Linked DNA regions of Homo sapiens: all the other regions are linked to region 3. The links are contacts of gene promoters, found by promoter capture Hi-C in blood cells and fetal thymus (Javierre and others, 2016). All regions are on one chromosome and are shown on one strand. The core of a region is centred on a gene start or on the middle of the fragment in contact, and the rest is flanking DNA. Distances in the headings are between cores, read along the strand shown. Region 1 has its middle 260 kb from the start of ANGPT1. Region 2 has its middle 270 kb from the start of RSPO2. Region 3 holds the start of ANGPT1 (angiopoietin 1). Region 4 has its middle 310 kb from the start of ANGPT1.

What was found. The method cuts DNA at HindIII sites, captures the fragments that hold promoters and counts their contacts. A CHiCAGO score of 5 or more calls a contact.
Region 1: a contact is called between a fragment that was not itself captured here and the fragment with the promoter of ANGPT1 in region 3, in 1 of 17 cell types (neutrophils). The highest score is 6.0, in neutrophils.
Region 2: a contact is called between a fragment that was not itself captured here and the fragment with the promoter of ANGPT1 in region 3, in 1 of 17 cell types (neutrophils). The highest score is 8.1, in neutrophils.
Region 4: a fragment that was not itself captured here is called in contact with the fragment with the promoter of ANGPT1 in region 3 in 1 of 17 cell types (megakaryocytes); the score reaches 5.6 in megakaryocytes.

The regions. Positions count from the first base shown.
Region 1 is chr8:107,757,747-107,760,530 of GRCh38, reverse strand. No RefSeq gene overlaps it. Among named protein-coding and RNA genes, the nearest start is that of ANGPT1, 260 kb to the right of the region's middle. The HindIII fragment of the contact is 3,812 bases long and covers 1-2,784 here.
Region 2 is chr8:107,808,499-107,811,313 of GRCh38, reverse strand. No RefSeq gene overlaps it. Among named protein-coding and RNA genes, the nearest start is that of RSPO2, 270 kb to the left of the region's middle. The HindIII fragment of the contact is 5,175 bases long and covers 1-2,815 here.
Region 3 is chr8:107,496,492-107,499,251 of GRCh38, reverse strand. It overlaps ANGPT1 (angiopoietin 1), which reads left to right and starts at 1,334. Exons shown (of 9, transcript NM_001146.5): 1 at 1,334-1,990. The coding sequence starts at 1,694. The HindIII fragment of the contact is 4,855 bases long and covers 1-2,760 here.
Region 4 is chr8:107,188,548-107,191,247 of GRCh38, reverse strand. No RefSeq gene overlaps it. Among named protein-coding and RNA genes, the nearest start is that of ANGPT1, 310 kb to the left of the region's middle. The HindIII fragment of the contact is 788 bases long and covers 857-1,644 here.

The DNA.
Region 1 (2,784 bases), core at 205-2,704, 260 kb before region 3:
CATGATGGAAGTCTCTCTTCACTAATTTATCACTCTGTCACCAGCTACAGAGCTATTTTCTTCTTTCTATGTCCCCATGATAAGTCAGAAGCACTTTGGATATTTTAATTTTATTATGATTTTTTAATTTGTTGTGCATATATATTAGGTGTATATATTTATTGGGTACATGAGATATTTTGATACAGGCATACCATGAATAATAATCACTTCAGGGTAAATGGGGTGGGTATTCATCCCCTCAGGCATTTATCCTTTGTATTACAAACAATCCAATTATATCCTTATTTTTAAATGTATATTAAATTTATATTGACTATAGTCTCCCTGCTGTGCTATTGAATACTAGATCTTATTCATTCTATCTATTTTTGTGTACTCAGTAACCATTCCCACATCCTCTCCCCCCACAACTACCCTTTGGACATTGTATTTTAATTCTCAATTTATATTTCTGTTTCCCACTAAAGGGTGAGCTCCTTGAAGCAAAGGACAGTGTGTGAAAGACTTCACATCTCCTGCACCTTGAACAGAATGCAGAACTTAAGAGTACACACACACACCAAAGTTCACTGAATGGTTTAAAGAGACCCAAATCCATTCTAGAGCTTGCTTTACATTGTACCATATAGTGAGCAACATTTCCTTATGATGAAAGGGTACTTTTCCTGACAGCTCAATTTAGAAAATGAACTGGTTATTTCTATGATTTTTAAAAATGTATACTTCAGGAGTGACATTTCTTCTGTTAATTTCAAAAGTTTTTGGAGGCCCAGACTTTAAGTCCTCTGTGATAGGATTGAGGAGGACAGCCTAGGAACAATGAGCCTCCTGCTCGTTGCTGTCTGGTAGCTGGCCAGAAGTAGGAAGGGGAAGGAAGAGAGGAGCACTGTGGCCTCTCTTCTCCTCTCCATGCCTCGCTGCAAAAGTGGAGAAGAAGGAAGGAAACTAGAAAGGTGTCAGAAAGGGGTGTCATGAAATCTATGAGCATCCAAATTTGATTTTTTCAGCTAGTCACAAATTTAACATAACAACCTAAAATTAAACTTGAAACACAGAAAAAACAAATACATTTAAGAAACATACTGGTAAATGATGACCTTGTCTATTTAAAATCCTTACTGACTGTAAACTCTTTGAACAGCGATTTTGTGAGCCTTATGTGGCTTTTTATCCTGGGTCTTAGCATAGAAAAAGTATACTCATTGAATGATTGAATAAATAACTTTAAAAAATACTTAGAACTAAGCAAACAAACATATAGGCAATTCCTAATATGCAAAGAAATGGAACTGCCTGCTGCCTGAAATTCTTTGAGGAATGATTAGAAGATTTTTTAAAAAATAGTAAATAAACATAGGTTGCAAGATGATTTTTGGAACTCAGGATTTTCATAGGTACATGTTACCCACAGTAACTGGCCAAAACCTCAAATCCTAGTTTACCAATACTTCAATAAGCACAGAATTTACTGATCATGTCTAAACATTTCTTTAAGGCAATGCAAGTTAACTTTCAATTGGAAAACACTGGCTATGACTTCAATTCTTCTTAAAGGGACATTCTGAGGAGTTCATTGATATAAATATGAACATACATGAAAAACTGTTCAGTATCATTAGCCATTAAAGAAATGCAAATTGAAACTACAATGTGATATCACAACACACCTATCAGAATGGCTAAAATTTTTAAAAAAATGTAATAACATCTAATCCTGGTGAGAATGTGAAGAAAGTAGATCCTTATTCATTGTTTGTAAGAATATAAAATGGTACAGCCATTCTGGAAAAGAATATGGCAATTCCTTATGTACTTACAATCAGTTTGTGTTAGCCACAGACTGTGAGACGGAAGGACAAATATCATATGGAACCACCAAAGAACAAGACACCATAAAGTGACTTACTATACTACCGTAGCATAAAATGTGTGCTGCTAACTTGTATTTTAATTCCAGAGATCTTCAGCAATGTAGTCTAACAAAGCAAACTGTCAGGAAGAATAAATAATGGAAACCCTAAAAAATAATGAAACCTGAACCTGCGGCAGATAGGGACTGTATAAAATTACACATCCACCTGAGAGAATGGAATATGTGAAAGTCGTTGCTGGCATTTTCTCCAGGAGGCATTTGTGGGAAATTGTATTGAAGAGAGGCAGTTTTAAGAGCAGAGGAGGAATTCATTTACTAGAATTAGGTCCTAACAAGATGGAACTGCTACCTCATATGGCTCATGTATAGAACTGTAGAAACATTTCATGAGTATTTTACGTTCCTTTGCTCACTGTAACATCTATAAGGTGCTGACAAAATAATTTGGAGTTAGACCAATTGTTAAAAATAAATTATAGTGTATCTATTTTATGGTGAGGCATAGTGCTATGGCTGAATAAGAAGGAACCATAGTTAGTTTGCAGCAGGGAAGAATATCTAGAAAAGTGAGCTCCTTATTTTACCCTTTGGATTTTACTATGTACTACTGAGCTTGACATACGTAAGCAGTATGATTCTGAGAATTCTGAAGAACCATGACTAAGCTGATCCCATCTGGAAAAATCTTGATGTTATTTGGCTAGACATAACTCTTATGAGGTGGTCTATATCCAGATACTACACAACTCCTTGGAGTTTAGAGAAAAACAACAGAGGCTGTTCCAATCATTTGGTCAGAGCAGCAAGAGATTTTTGCATAAAATGCTCAAACCTTGGAGAGGTTACTTATTATTTCTGACTCAGTTTTCTTACTGGTAAAACAGAGATTAGAGTATCGGCTTCTATGG
Region 2 (2,815 bases), core at 139-2,638, 310 kb before region 3:
CCAACCTGTCCTGCCTATCACTGTGGTCTCTGTGAGCATAGCACAGCCCTCTGTAAATCAATGTTCCCATATTATTTGTTCAAAGAAAGAGTGAGCCAAAGGTACTTATTGCACTTTCTCTTCCTGAACCCCAGACATGTATCTACAACTGCCTAAAGGACATTTCCAACTGAGTGTGTAGAATGTTGCACAAAATCAGTGGGCCAAACTAATCTCTTGCTTTTCACCGCTATAACCTAGTTTTTCTGTGAATGGCGTTGCTAACCATCTTGTTGTTCATGTCAGAAACTCAATGTTCATCCTCGTTTTTTTCTCTTTTTCTCAAACTCCTAGCCATATCTGGAATATGTGCAGCTTTACATACCTCCTCTACCCTTCCCCTGTTTCAGAACTCTGGACTTCCCTGAATCACTGCAACAATCTTTAAGATGGCTTTCCCCACATTCACTCTTGTTCTCCCCCAATTCATTCATGAATGACAGACCCCTGAAATGAAAACATTCAAGTGTACAGTCAAAGCTGAAGAAAGGAGGCATGTGTTATGGCAGGCAGAGTGCTGGAATGGAAGAGAAGAGATCTAAGTTCTGGTTCTGGTTCTATTATTGCCTGGATAAGTCAATTTGGACATTTCTCTGCCTCTATGGCTATTGGCTTATCTATAAAATAAAAACTTTGGATCAGATGATTTCCAAAGATTCTTCAAACATAAAAATTCAATGCTTTTGTTAAAACTGTTTCTAATTCTGGAGCAAAAGACTTTTATGATGCTTTAAAATTGATTTTAATAATAGAGCTGGTTGCAAATGGCTTTAAATATGTATTCCTTAAAGGCTTCTCTCCATGGTGGCTACAAACGGGCTAATCCCCTAATGGGATTATAATTCCAGATACAATCTGGTCATTTGTTCAAATTAATAATTCCAGATACAATCGGGTCATTTGTTCAAATTAAACTTCACTTTTTCTTATCTCAATTTGTAGGTACAAAAGTTGAATGAGATCAACTTTTGTCCCTGTTTTCTTGTAATATAAAGACCTTCAAGGAGTCTTTAATCCACTCAGAAAATAAGTTTCTGTATATTTCTCTCACAAAATAACAATTAATTAGAACTTGACTTAATTGAAAGTAATATGCCCTCAGCTAGCATTATTGATTTAATTAAGAGTTAACAGGATGACATGGTTGCCTTAAATGTGACTGCACCAATAGGGCTCGAGGGATAGAATAAAGAAAATAATGATTTCATATTATTCATTGGTTGGGCAATATCTGGAGTTACTGTGTTCAATCTGAGTACTGTATTTTAGAGGGCACATTGACAAACTACAATGAGTTTGGAGGAGGATACTGTGTTGTTGTAGAATCTACAAACCCTATATGAAACATGGTTGAAGAAGCCAAAGATATTTAAGCTAGAAAAGAAGAAAATTATGGAGGATACCAGAGATCTCAACTTTCTGAGGGACTGTCAGTAGCACAGAGATTTGGCTTCCTCTAGTGCTTCAATGGATATAATATGGGATCTTTGAAACATTGTAGCTCAAACCACACTATTCCTGTGTGTTAACACTCCCGTGACTTTTCATTATTCTTGCAATGAACTCCAATCTTCCTATGACAGACCTTCACCCACTTATGTCTCCATGCCCCTCACTCACTAGGGTCAAGACCTATTAGTTTTTGGTTTTTTGCTTTGTGTTCCTTCAACATACAAAAATTCGAATCCACCTCAAATCTCTTATACTTGCCGTTCCCTAACTAAACAAGGAACTGCATGAACAAATAAAGCATTAGTAGTGGGTACAGATTAAAGACAGCAGATTTTGCTCAATACAAGGAAGAACTGAGCCTCAGAACCCAATACCCAGAGTCCTGGTAGAAAATGAAGATCTGTCCATCTGGAATGATTAAAGAGAAGGCTAATCACTTCCTGCCATGGAAGTTGTAGAAGGTGAATTGGTTGCTTTGCGCTTTATTGGACAGAAACTCATCATAAGTTGCCTTTGGCCCAAAAAGGAATATCCTGGTTTATTTAACTAAAATGTCCCAGCATGGCTAAATCCAGGTAATCAAATAATGTCTCCGGGAACATTATTTGTTCCAACCACAACCTCTGCTTCTCTCTGTTGGCCTCATTCTCAGGCAGGCTGTCTCCAAGAGGAAGCACTGTGGCCTCCAGAAGTTTCAGGACTATATCCTGCCTGATTAGCAATCCCTTAAAAAAAGAGAGTTGCTGTTTCTTAAAAAATTCCAGCAATAGTCCCAGGATTAGCTATATTTGGTTTGGCTTGGGCCACATGTCCACCCTGAGCCAATCACTGCAGCCTGGAGATGAGATAATTTCAACCGCCACTTTTGAGACTGGTGAAAAAACACACCTCTCACAAAAGCCAGAAGTAGAATCAGCTTCACCAGAACGACATGAAATAAAATTGTGGGAGGGATAGTTCTTCAAAATAAAATAAGGGAGTAGCTAACAAAATACCAAAGAAAAGGATGCTGGAAAGACAAGAACATAAGATCTCTGTTAAAAATGATGTTTTAATTAAGGATGTTCAAAATTTATATAACTGCAAAAAGGTTGGATTATCTGACTTCTAACAATATGTTTGATTCTCAGTGTTCTATGATAGAGAGTTGTGGTTTTATTTATTTTTTTTGTCTTTATCTGCTGTGGTCAATGTCTTAGAAAGATCCTGTCCTATCTGATGGCTTGAGATAAAGTCAAAATCGTCTGCTCATGGCAAATGCAGAACAGGAATTAGGGAAGGGGAGAGGTCACTAGAACCTGACTGAGACCAGAATGGGTATGAG
Region 3 (2,760 bases), core at 85-2,584:
GTAAATCGCATTTGTTCTGGAATTTGTTTTGACCTCTCCTCTAACTTCTCCCTAAATGCCCATCTCTAACCACTACGGACCTTCACCCACTGCCCTGTTCTCCTTCCAAGACATGGGAGATGACAGCTGTGGCTTCTGTTTTCACACCATGACTGCAGTTGTCTAAAAGCCCTCCCAGTTCCTAATGAAAATCCCAACTCATAATTCAGGTTTTCTGCATCTAGTAAAGATCTCAAAGCCGTTCCCTAAATTCTACAATTATTGCCTGTTTATGTTTATGGGTCCCTTTGTTCAAATGTTTATACGCTGCCTGTGGGAAATCATCTTCTGATAATTTTTCTTTCTTCCTTCACAGAAGCACAGAGATGTCTCCTGTACAGCCCATTGCTGGCTGTTAGCACACCTGATATATGCTTGTTCTCACATAGTATGTCTGTGCAGCCACAGGAGGTTTTTATGTGGAACTTCCACACCAGTGTTAAAGACAGCCATAGCCACCAAAGAGATCCTTGTAAAATACAGGATTAGGATATACCACAGGAATTAATAATTCTCAAGCCACTGCTTTAAATTGTAGCCACATTGTTTTTGTAGGGAAGTTGCTCAATTTATATACACAGAACATGAAGGGTTGCATTCTGATCAGGACACCAGTTTCATTTAAGAACCCTATACCAAAAGGTACTTAGATAACCCTCTTTAATATGCACATACTATATTGCTTTGTGCAACATATTGCTTTGAGCAACAAATGATGCTAATTTTCTTGCTAATTTGATCCTCTCTGATTATTTTCTTCAACTCCTAAAAGTCTAAGTGAATACAATGAAAGAATACCATCTGTAAAAACTGTTTTTTAACATATTTTTCCTCAGAGTCAAGAATACATGTTTTTTAAAGACATTTAATAATGATATGGGTTTATCATTCTCTATCAAAAATAATTCCATTGGACATTATGCCAATTTTCTTCTTAGGGTCCCTCGACTAAATAGTAACTTTAAAAACATACTGCTAGTTTGCTATATTTTAGTAGGTCAGCATGCACACCAAAAGTGTATTAAGGTGGACTGCTCTATTTATTGATTTGCCATGAATCTGCTAAAGGCTCAAGGCAATTGTCTGTGGAAAGGGGCGGGAGGGCCATACATGATCGAGGTCATGCGCATCTAGCCAATTTGTAAGACGATCCCGCCGCCCTAAGCCATCAGCAATCCTTAGTATAGGGGCACACTCATGCATTCCTGTCAAGTCATCTTGTGAAAGGCTGCCTGCTTCCAGCTTGGCTTGGATGTGCAACCTTAATAAAACTCACTGAGGTCTGGGAGAAAATAGCAGATCTGCAGCAGATAGGGTAGAGGAAAGGGTCTAGAATATGTACACGCAGCTGACTCAGGCAGGCTCCATGCTGAACGGTCACACAGAGAGGAAACAATAAATCTCAGCTACTATGCAATAAATATCTCAAGTTTTAACGAAGAAAAACATCATTGCAGTGAAATAAAAAATTTTAAAATTTTAGAACAAAGCTAACAAATGGCTAGTTTTCTATGATTCTTCTTCAAACGCTTTCTTTGAGGGGGAAAGAGTCAAACAAACAAGCAGTTTTACCTGAAATAAAGAACTAGTTTTAGAGGTCAGAAGAAAGGAGCAAGTTTTGCGAGAGGCACGGAAGGAGTGTGCTGGCAGTACAATGACAGTTTTCCTTTCCTTTGCTTTCCTCGCTGCCATTCTGACTCACATAGGGTGCAGCAATCAGCGCCGAAGTCCAGAAAACAGTGGGAGAAGATATAACCGGATTCAACATGGGCAATGTGCCTACACTTTCATTCTTCCAGAACACGATGGCAACTGTCGTGAGAGTACGACAGACCAGTACAACACAAACGCTCTGCAGAGAGATGCTCCACACGTGGAACCGGATTTCTCTTCCCAGAAACTTCAACATCTGGAACATGTGATGGAAAATTATACTCAGTGGCTGCAAAAAGTAAGTGATTGCTTTCAGTTTCTAATAGCACGGACCTTTTTCCTTTCTTGCACTGCAGCTAACTTAAAGTTCCTTAGGGGAGCATTTGTGTATTTACCTTTTGCTCCAGGGGGGCAGTGTTTGCAATTGCAAGACGGCTGTCTGGGTTTGGCTTCCTGGGTAAGCCAAGGTTTGGGGGCTTGCCCAAACCTATGAATGTGTGGGGGCACCCCGTTTGTGTGTCTAGCCCTGGCAAATTTTATGACATTTTTGGTTTCTCTTTTCTAAAGTTCAGCATTAAGGTTCTCTCTGTCAAAACACTACCTTAAGAAAGAAAGTATGTACCTCTTAAGCAAGTTGGTGAAAAATAAATAATAATGACAATATTAATTAATAAGATCAAATCGATTTTGCACCAGAAAATTTTGTGCCGCTGGGGTGGCAAATCATCACAAAGTATTTGTTTTTTTAACCTTTATAAAAATTAACATGAAGTGAGAGTAAATATAAAATATGATATTTGGTTGGAGAAATTGTATATTTATGTAAAGGGAACTGTTAGTTTCAGCAAGTGGTAGAATAGTAGACTGATTTCTGTTAAATATTTTTTTCTTCTGTCCTTGAGAAAAAAAATTAAAAAGATACATTGTAATGTTAACTGTCGGAAAGGGGTTGCTCGCTCACGATGAGGGCATGCTGGCTGTTGAGGAAGACATGCACCTGCAGATATGGGCTGAACGCAGCATGTAGTCTACTATATTCCTGAAATACCTCCCTTCTCAGGGCATTGT
Region 4 (2,700 bases), core at 1-2,500, 310 kb after region 3:
CTTGAGTAAGTGTAAGGCAAAGTTGCTATAATCAAATAACTTTAGTATTCGCATTAAAAATAAAAATAACATTGAAGTCATTTTAGGTAGACAATTTGCAAAGCCTCCCGAGTCCATTAATAATTGCACATTCCAAAATCTCTGAAACTTTGATTGATGCATTGATAATACTTTCTTCTGTTTTAGATAAAGAAACTATTGACTAAAACTAAAGCCAAGTTTTGCTTTTAAAATATCTCCAGTGAATGTCAAGCTATATCATAGCCTAATTCACACTGCAATGCATATCATGAACATTGTACCAATCATAAATCCCTACTTTAAATCTAGATTTTATAATGACAGCTCTGCTTTCAGTTATATTGTTGGCAAGATTTCTCTGAATACTGACTACAGGGATTACAAGGTCATTGTTGGTTCCAATGAATCCCATAAACTTGTGAATAAGAAGCCCTTAACTTTCCAGGGCTTTAAGTGTCATGATAAGGAATAGAATATGTCAATAACCTGCTCTGTAGGTTTCCTGTCTTAGATGTCTGGATTTGATCACATCTCGGGTAATAAATTTGCCTCATAATTATTTAAGGAAGATCACTTGGAAACATGGATGGCCAAAGGAACTCTTAATATTTAAAGTTACTTGGAACCATTAAACAAATTTATTAATATTGATCAATTTTAATTACTATTAACCTCAGGAAAACAAACCAACATTAGATGATTTTGAGCACTCTCTTGATTATTCGTATTACTAATGCTTGATTAGTTTGTCCAAATTGTCCTTTCATACGTGAGCTTTAACTGTTCCTGAACATCAAGTCTGATTCAGATGGCAGTAAGAAAAGGTACAAAAGCTTTATCCACATCAGAGTCCTGATTAAGAAGCTAGCGTTTCACTGACACTATGAGTTCCGTTATTCTTAACCTGTGAATAACAGCTTCCATAGCCATTTAAATGACATCCTACTCCTCCCAGTATGTTCCACTGACTCAGCCTTACCCTTCTGGTGTACATACTTGATTCTCATTGCTTCTGTGTCTCTTGCCTTCAATATATTTCCTTTTTCTTTCTTAAAAGTCAAGAAACTTCTGACAGCCTCAAATCCAGGGTGCCATCTCTTCTATTTTTAACTCCTTGACCCTTTAAGCTACGTGTATTACTCTTTATGTGTCACTGGTGTGTCTCTCATTCTCAGAGAGGCAGAAACAATGTAGTTTTTTCTTAGTACTCACACACAGCCAACTGTAATACTCAGTATGCAGTAGGTATGTCACATATGCTTGATGAAAGAAGAGATAGCAATGCAATTTGGAGAAACTTCCCAAAAGAGTTATCTTGCCCACTCACTCTTGCAGTTTGTTAACCCTCTATGAAAACAAATATTAACGAATTATATTATTACATCCCCCACTCTCCTTTATAATCATCCTTTGCAATAGCAACTATATTGCCCAGGTATAGGTACTTGGGGAGAAAAGGAAGAAAATCAGGAAAATGGCTGATTTAGGATTCATCTTAATGCTTAACAATCATAATTTGTAATGTGATATTAAGAATTTTTAGGGAGATATATAGCTTGAAATAATTTATTCTGTTTATTAAATTATTTTAAAAACCCAGGAAATTATGCTTACTACCAAGCTTTGCATTTGATTTTTCTAGCTCTGTCATTTCTAAAATATATGTGCAGAAATATTCTTCTGGAAGCCTGGTATTCTGGTTTCATAGACGGGAACAAAGTAAAGTAGGCTGTTGAATTAATTGGAGCTGAAACAAAAGGCTTCCTGAACCTCACCTGTTAATCACTGAAATGAAAGGCCAATTCAAAGATGTAACGCAACCCTGTCAGCCGTCCAGAGCTGCTTGCATTGCCACAAATTCACTTATGACTCTCCTGGGAGTACCACTGCTGTGAAACCTACAGATTTAGAAACTGCCCCTCAATTCTGCTCAGCACAGAATGCAAACATTTGACTCATATGGCACTTGTTTGTCAAATGAGCCAGGACAGGGAAATTGATGAGTGTACTAATTATTCTTGAAAGAGCCAGAGAAGAGTGGAGAACATTCATGAACTTAAGATAATGAAGTGAAGAGCAAGGGAATGAATTCTCCCAAATTTTAAAAGGCTTCAGATTCACAGACAGCAAGGCTGGTGAGCAGGACAGGGATTTCTCAGTTAGAAACAGTCCTCCTCCTCTACTGCAATCCTGACATCTCCCTTGCAGATTAAAGCAATTGGAGCATAAATTTTTGGAAACTGTGAAATTTTTTTTTCCAGCATTGAATACCTATGTGTAATAGGGAAATACAGATCATAACTCCTTTGAGTAATCACTTGTCTTCCTAGTTTTTATAAAAATTAATGCTTTTTCTCCTAAGTACCAAAGCGGAACACTATGGTAGTTCAAATGGTGGAGCCTCTCAGAAAAAGGCTAAATTACTATTTAACGTAAACATACAAAGGGACAATCCTGAGCCTAAGTGAAATTACTCTGAACTTTTTAAAAAATGAGTCAAATTTGGTTTTTAAGCCACAGATACTTGCCTGCATCAAAGTTACAAGTAAAAAATGTCATAAATATGAGCTAGAATTAAATTTTTGAGTTGGTATACTAATACAAAGTGGCAATGATTTTAAGCTCCTTGCAAGGAAAATTAAAATATTTATATCTTCTACATCCTTTCTCCAGAAAATA